Linked DNA regions of Homo sapiens: region 1 is linked to region 2. Evidence: promoter capture Hi-C in 16 types of primary human blood cells and fetal thymus (Javierre and others, 2016). All regions are on one chromosome and are shown on one strand. Each heading gives the region's core, a stretch centred on a gene start or on the middle of the fragment in contact. The rest is flanking DNA. Distances are from core to core; before and after follow the strand shown.

Region 1 (3,979 bases), core at 300-2,799, 380 kb before region 2:
GAGGTTGCAGTGAACTGAGTCTGAGAAGGCTGGGCAAGGAACAGTTCAGACGAGAGGTGTCTAGCCATGCTTCCCACGTCTCACCAGGTACCCGTCGTGCCTTCATGGAGCCCTGGGGCTCTCCCACCATGGGGCCTTTGCACTTGCCATGGCCTCTGCTTGGATTGTGCTTCCGCGGGCTGGCTCAAACGTCTCCCTTCAGAGACCCCTCTGACAAGCCTGTAACTACAAACCTCGTAATCATTATAGTAATTTGCTAGCTTGGTTTTTGGTCTGTGTCCTTGAAAAAGTTGCAAGCTCTTTGAGCAGGGTCTTGGTCTTATTCCCTATTGTATCCCTGGTGCTAGGGCAGAGACCAGCAGTAAATGAAGAAACAGCAGTGTCCTGAGGAAAGCCCGGCTCACCGTTCCTTGATGATGTGGTCGAGTTTGTAGTTGGGCTTATTGTCCTTTAAACGCTCTACAGTGTTCCACTCGCTCTTCCCATAAGCCTTCCGGAGCTTCCGGACGAACACCTGGAAGAAAGAAAGAAAACACCTCAATGCTGAGGCTCAGGTCTCCTGGACAACTTCTTCCATGGAAGATGGAAACGCAGGGCAGAAGGACTCTCATGCCTCCTGAAGCTGGCCACGGCTATGTGCCTGTGTCACTGACCCCTCTGCCCAGGATGAGCAAAAGAGCCAACTCCAAGGAGCACCAAGCCTGGTGTGTTAACCAGCAGAGCTAGACCAGGCACCCTTTTTGACAATGCACAGATGTCCCAACTCCACACGTTTACATGGGAGGATGGCACAGCAAAGCAGCTCCGTTTTTCAACTGAGAACAGAAGCCAAGTGACCTGACACTGACAGGATGAGAAAGGCTGGCCTCCATTGCCAACACCAGACTATATCAGCATGAAACAAGCTGTGGGTCTGTGTGTGACACTGAGACACCCAGAAAAATGCAACGGAGTCCTGTTTTGGGGCCAGGTCCTCCAAACTAACCGACCTCTTCCCTCCAAGTACTTCTGTTGAGGCTCACCCTGCCCTCTGTATAGGCTTACTCAGAGAGGGTAGGCAATCTGCCCAAGGTCACAGTTAGTTAGTGGGTCACAGAGCTGCGATGAGAACCTGACAGACCCTAGAGCCCAGACCTCACCTTGTATTCACGGAACTTGTTGACAATGGGTTCGTGGAGGAGAAACCTGATGTCTTTGATAAGGTAAAACGTTCGGGCTGCTGTAGAACCCTTGTTAACCTTCTTCTTGTGTTTGGGTTCATGGGGATAAATGCCCTTCAGAATGCACAGCCGCCTGGAAGACAGAGGCCATCTGTTATGTCAGTTATGTGGGTAAAGGTGGGGAGCACTGGCCACAGCTGGGCCTGGAAAACAACAGTAAATGGGGAACATGGGGTCCCTGCCCTTAGAGACCTCACATCCTAGTACATGAGTCTGACAGTCACAATCATAAAACAAAAACGCAGACTTGCGAGTCTCTAGGGGAGTTAAGAAAGGCCTTTCTGAGATATCAACATTTCAGCCATAAAAAGGAGAGAAGCATCCTAACAAAAGAGACAAAGTCCAGAAGGCTGGAAACAGCTGGTGTGTTTGAAGGAATAAAAGTGGACCAGGTGGCTAGGCGTGATGGCTCACATCTGTAATCCCAGCACTTTGGAAGGCTGAGGCAGGAGGATCACCTGAGGTCATGAACTGGAGACCAGCCTGGCCAACATGGTGAAATCCCATCTCTACTAAAAAAAAAATACAAACATTAGCCAGGCACGGTCGCCAGCAACTGTAATCCTAGCTACTCGGGAGGCTGAGGCAGGAGAATCGCTTGAACCTGGGAGGTGGAGGTTGCAGTGAGCTGAGATCACGCCAATGCACTCCAGCCTGGCCAACAGAGTGAGACTCTGTCTCCGGGGAAAAAAAAAAAAAAAGTGGGCCAGGTGAGCCACAAAGGCCAGGGACCGCCAGAGGGCAGGGCCCACAGGCCACAGTGAAGTCTTATTTTGACTCTATGAGGAATGAGAACCCCTAGTTGCAGGATCAGGGGTCTCTTCTACCAGATAGGAGGGGATGGATGGCAGGGACCCAGCCCAGCCCATCCCAGCCCAGCTAGCCCATCCTGACAATCCAGTTCAGTTCTCCTCCATTTTCCCTTGGACCACACCTAGCAAACACAACTCACTAAAGCAAGGGCGGTGAGAAAGAGAAGGAATACCAGAACCCCAGAATGGGTATGGCAACTCAGGTAAGACAGGGATGCAGCTGAGTTTTCAATGTGCAATTCACTGCCCGGGCTTCCCACGGTCCCTCTATATTCACCTAAAGTCAGCCAAGCTCAGCTGGAGCTTCTTCCGGGCTTTGTTCCGGGTGATGTAGTTGGTGGCCGAGCCTCGTTCATACTGGGAGAGGAAAAAAACAATTCTCCATTAGCAATGATTGTAGTGACTGACATCAAACTCTGGGCATGCCTAGTTCCAGAGGCAACTATCACTCTGGATAAGTGGCTGAGATGAGTCTAGGAGAGGAAACACTGCAGGGAAGGAGCCGACCTGCCTGGATGAGCTCTCCTGTACCATCCTTGCGGCTGTCAGCATAGGGAACACATACATCTGCATGATGCTGAGGGCTGCGAGGCTGCTACGGATAGGGTGCTGTGCCAAGTGCTTAGCACTAGCTCTAAATGTTGGCCATTACAATTAGTGATTTTCACACATTTCATTTAATTCCCATAACCCTGTGATGTAGGTGCTGTCCGAACGTCCATTTCACATAGGAGAAAACGGGCTCGTAAAATAACCCATGCAACTCTTAAAAAGCACACAGCTTTTTAAGAGTTGGGGCTGGGATTCAAACTCAGGTCTGAGTCCAGTACCTGAATGCCTAATAGCTAAGCCAGTGTTCCTAATCTTTTCCCCTTCTTTTCTTCCTCATTATAACCTCTTCACCACTACCAGGAGACTTATTAGACACCCCCTTCCTCCCTCACCCATCACCCTTTCTTCCCTATGCCCCATAAAATGTTAATACCAGAGATATACTGTAGGTCTGTTTATGTAATGTAGTCCTTGGGGAGCCACAACCATTGTAATAGCTAAGATACTGCCCCTCAACCAATTTTGTTCCCTTGAGGGTGGTATTACCCTGGCTGAAAAAGCATGCTCTAAGCCACACAGCTTCTCCCCTTCCTCATTCATTCATTCAACAGACAATAACAGGTCCTCTATTATGGTCAAAGCACTAAGCTAGATGCTATGAAGGCAATAAAGACAAAAAGCCTGGTCTCTACCTGCCCCTAAGAAGCCTATTGTCTTGTATAACCATCTGGATGCCTGTGGTGCTAAGATGCTGCCTCACACCCACATTTCTGTATCCCTCACACTTCTGTATCCCTCGATAGAGACAATCAGTGCACTGTAACAAATACCCTGCAAGCTAACAAGCATGTCGTTTCCAAACAAGATCTTCCTCTGGACTAAGACAGCAGGGGCCTCTTTGGCTAGGTTCAGCTCTAAAGAGACAAACCTGTTAGTCTCCCACAGGTACGTTTACTAATAACATCATAGTCATGAAACATACCCTTCATTCATTCTTTCCTTTAGACATTAATTGTCTATTAGGTATTAGGCCCATGCTAAGTCTTGGAGGTATAAAGATGAGTTTCAGACTGCCTTAAGAAGTTGAGTTTTCATTTATAGCGTTTTCCATTACCTTATGCCACACTTATCTCTGTCACCATGCTTATCCTTATAAATGTTAAGGGAATAAATAGTTCTCAATGGGGTACTCCCTGGGTATGTGCTGGGGGGAGGAGAGTTCAGCAATGTTTGGAGACATTTTTGGTTGCTGGGTGCTACTGGTATCCAGTAGGTAAAGGATCAGGGATGTTGCCAAATATCCTACTACACACAAGACAATCCTTCCCACAACAAAGACTCATCTTTGTTGATTCTGGCTCTGAAACCCAGCTTTTAAAAACTGTAACGATTTTG
Region 2 (4,044 bases), core at 1-2,500:
TGTTGGATTCCTATAAACACTTGAATGAAACAACTCAACATATTGACTTCAAATAACTAAAGTTTGCATTTAGAAAATTTTGATCCAATAAACAAAAATCAGATTCTTCTGGATTAGCAACAAGTATTTCACTGATCTCAGTTCTTCAATACAGAGCTCAAGATATCCAGTGACACATTTCACTCCAGTGGGATACATCTCAAAAAGTGAAAAAGCAAAATTTTCTGGGGAAACGATTTCCATATAATATCAAGGAACGAGTTACTGGTTACCTCAGTGGCACCTAGAGGATACTTACGAATTTGTGTGCAGATATTCAAAGGTTAGCTGAGCTCGATTCAGACTGCTGTAATTTGTGAAAGCCATGACTGCAATAAGGTCTCCAGCCCTTCACCCGCTAACTGGGAAATATAACCTTATAATGATATCGATTTCCCAGGATTCTGTCCAGTAAAGCTTCAGTAAGTCTGTGCTCCTTAATGACAGTTAAAGTAACCTAGTAGCTATCCAAAATATATGCAGAGATGTTTAAAACTACAATTTCTTCAAGTGTTTTTTTTTAATCTTCTCAATGATTTATGATGTAATATTTTGGAAGGAACTATGTCATAAATCTGTAGCTTTAAGGAGCTTTTAGCATTAAGTTGCGATAGCTCAATTCAGACAATCTGAGTCTCGTGTGGATGGTCCTGAAGGAGATGGTCCTTGAGTGGGTGGTTTATGACTGCTCCATCTTCATGTTCTTCCAGCCTTTTTTGGTTCCCCGAAATTTCCTGTCAGGAAATTTACCAACGCGGAAATTTACCCACTTCTGTCAGAAAACTGATCAGCCATGTCTTCGCCACACGTGATGCCAGGATTCTTAAACAGGCCCAAGACCGGAGACCAAGATGTCGACGGAGTGTTATATGGCGCAAGTTGCAGCTTCACCACCTCCCAAGTGAAAAAGCTCCTAGGCACTCACGATTTCTTTTTTCAAAGCCGGACCAAACCCAGTTCAGGGTGGTGGTCAGATTACCTCACACTTGGCCCACATAAACACCTCACAAATGACCCGCCCACAGCACCTCGGGCAGGCCGCGCCCCGCCCCCACGTCCCTCAGACAACAGCCTCAGCCTCCCAGGCCCTTCCCGGGCCTCGGTCCCGTGGCCGCCTCCCCACGAAGAGGAGCTACTCCCGGCTTCCAAGGACCGGATCGAGGGCAGTGGCGAGCGCACCACCTGACCGGGCACTACCCGGATCTCACAACTGCCTTTGTCCCTCCCCGCGGAATTGGAACCCAACAGCCGCAGAGCGCTCTTGGAACCATGTGCTGCTGCCGCCTCCGCCGCCGCCGCCGCTGCCTCCGCCGCCGCCCGCGCGCCGCCCGCGCGCCGCGCTAGTTGAGATGGTGACAGGATTCAGCAACACGAAATTCGGCGTTTAGAGCTGCTCTGCCGCCGCCGTCACAGACACCACAGCCACCGCTTTGTCTCCGATAGTGCACACAGCCCCGGCCACCTCGCACACTCCCCGACGCCCCAAGCCCCCGAGGCCTCCGCGGAGCATTCAGCCAATCACAAAGCTGCAGCTCCTCCCGCCCCCGCCCTGATGTACAGCCTCCTGATTGGCGGGCTGCGTGTCCCCATGTGACCGGATCTTGGTTGGCCGGTCCCGCCCCTGTCACGTGACAGCGTGCGCCTCTCTTCCTGCTTTCCTGACCCTCTCCGCCATTTAAAGAAACAGTACCGGGGGCGGGCCGAGCGACGCAGCCGGGACGGTAGCTGCGGTGCGGACCGGAGGAGCCATCTTGTCTCGTCGCCGGGGAGTCAGGCCCCTAAATCGAAGAAGCCCTGGCGCGCCCTCCCCCCCTCCCGGGTCTGGTAGGGCGAAGGAACGGGCGTGCGGTCGATCGAGCGATCGGTTGGCGGCTCTTTCTCCTGCTCTGGCATCCAGCTCTTGGGGCGCAGGCCCGGCCGCCGCGGCGCGCGCCCGGTGGCCGTTGGCGCTCGCGCCGCGTCTTTCTTCTCGTACGCAGAACTCGGGCGGCGGCCTATGCGTTTGCGATTCGACGAGGAGTCGTCCGGGTGGTCGGCGGCGGCGGGCAGCTGCTCCGCCCCGCTCCGGGGGAGGCGGCGGCGGCAGCGGCCGCGGGATTTGGAGCGGCCGGGGAGGCGGGGGTGGCCGGGGCCGGCTTGGAGGCCTGGCGCCACCCTTCGGGGCCTGCAAGGACCCAGTTGGGGGGGCAGGAGGGGGCCGGAGGATGGTTGGTTGTGGGATTTCTACTTTGCCTTTTCCTCCTTATGCCGCCTTAGTGAGGGGCGGGAGCTCTGGCGGCAGCCCCGGGGTGGGGAGACGAGCTCCGGAGTCGGAAGAGCTGGGTTTTCTTCCGGGCCTAGCCACCAGTTGGCGGAGTGACCTTAGGCGAGTCACTCTGTAATTTGTCTGCGCCTCAGTTTCCTCCTCTGCCTATCAATGTGTGTGGGGTTGAAATCGCTTTGTAAACTATAAAGCGTGGGTGTACGTAAAGGATGGTTATTGTTTATAATTTTTTTTGAGTTGTAAGAAAACTTAGCAGTTCCCCAATCCTTGGGTTTTGAACCTGGGAACCTTGGATTGGAGTTGGGGATCCCCAAACTTCCTGAAATTGTGGGAATGTGCGGTTTGGGGGAATGATGGGAATTTGTGGGAATGTGCGTTTTAGGGGAATGATGATCCATCGCTAGCAAGTTTTCCAAGGGGGCTGTGACCCAGAAGAGTTAAGAATCACAATTTCTTCATGCTACAGAGAGGAAACTGAGGCCTAGATGTCATTTGGGACCCTTCACAACCATTTTGAAGCCCTGTTTGAGTCCCTGGGATATGTGAGCTGTTTCTATGCATAATGGATATTCGGGGTTAACAACAGTCCCCTGCTTGGCTTCTATTCTGAATCCTTTTCTTTCACCATGGGGTGCCTGAAGGGTGGCTGATGCATATGGTACAATGGCACCCAGTGTAAAGCAGCTACAATTAGGAGTGGATGTGTTCTGTAGCATCCTATTTAAATAAGCCTATTTTATCCTTTGGCCCGTCAACTCTGTTATCTGCTGCTTGTACTGGTGCCTGTACTTTTCTGACTCTCATTGACCATATTCCACGACCATGGTTGTCATCCATTACTTGATCCTACTTTACATGTCTAGGCTGTGTGGTTGGTGGTGAATAGGCTTCTTTTTACATGGTGCTGCCAGCCCAGCTAATTAATGGTGCACGTGGACTTTTAGCAAGCGGGCTCACTGGAAGAGACTGAACCTGGCATGGAATTCCTGAAGATGTTTGGGGTTTTTTTCTTTCTTAATCGAAAGTTAACATTGTCTGAAAAGTTTTGTTAGAACTACTGCGGAACCTCAAAATCAGTAGATTTGGAAGTGATTCAAAGCTAAACTTTTTCCTTGGCCCTCCTTGTGTTCTAATTGCTTGCAAGTGTAATACTAGGATGTCCAAGATGCCAGTTTTTGCTTCTTTGTTAGTTGTCAGCTGCTTTTATCAAATTTCAGGCCATTATCCAACAAACACTATAAAAATGTTTGAACAATTGGATTTCAAACATTTTCGTTTTGTGGAGTGGTGCTCACCAAGTGGTACAGCCCTAAGCAAGTGAACACAAACACATTTAAGTGTATTTTGTCTGATTAGATGTTAGCCAGTTATGCTATTTCATTCAAATGTCTGAAAAAATCAATTGACTATTCCCTTTTCCTAAAGGGCAGAGACAGATAATCTCACTTCCAGAGAAATGACTTGGAGAAAAAAAAGTGTTGGTCTTTTTGCTCTTTTGTAATTAAATCCGGATGTACCTCAAAAGACTTAAGACTGTGGTGATAAGATGCTTTCCTCAGCAGAAAGGAGGGAAAAAAAACAACTGGAACTCAAAGCTTGAAATTCTGTGGCAAAACATGAGATGTCCAGGATTGGAGGTTGAAAAGATTTCACTACAGTGTTCTGCAATAGTTGGAGCAGATAACTTTCAGTGTAGCCACAGCCATGGACTCCAGATTTCCAGATTTTCAAGACCTGGACCT

Evidence for each region. Contacts are between HindIII fragments. The CHiCAGO score rates a contact against its expected background, and 5 or more counts as called.
Region 1: a contact is called between a fragment that was not itself captured here and the fragment with the promoter of MORC2 in region 2, in 1 of 17 cell types (fetal thymus). The highest score is 5.2, in fetal thymus.

Annotation. Positions count from the first base shown.
Region 1 is chr22:30,586,882-30,590,860 of GRCh38, forward strand. It overlaps PES1 (pescadillo ribosomal biogenesis factor 1), which reads right to left. Exons shown (of 15, transcript NM_014303.4): 2 at 2,310-2,389; 3 at 1,140-1,293; 4 at 405-514. Among named protein-coding and RNA genes, the nearest start is that of PES1, 3.0 kb to the right of the region's middle. RefSeq lists an enhancer at 1-963. The HindIII fragment of the contact is 5,514 bases long and covers 1-3,979 here.
Region 2 is chr22:30,967,524-30,971,567 of GRCh38, forward strand. MORC2 (MORC family CW-type zinc finger 2) reads right to left here and starts at 1,251. Exons shown (of 26, transcript NM_001303256.3): 1 at 299-1,251. The coding sequence starts at 366. It overlaps TUG1 (taurine up-regulated 1), which reads left to right and starts at 1,742. Exons shown (of 3, transcript NM_001396518.1): 1 at 1,742-4,044. The coding sequence starts at 1,834. The coding sequence ends at 2,295. RefSeq lists an enhancer at 1,653-1,982 and a silencer at 2,013-2,262. The HindIII fragment of the contact is 3,441 bases long and covers 455-3,895 here.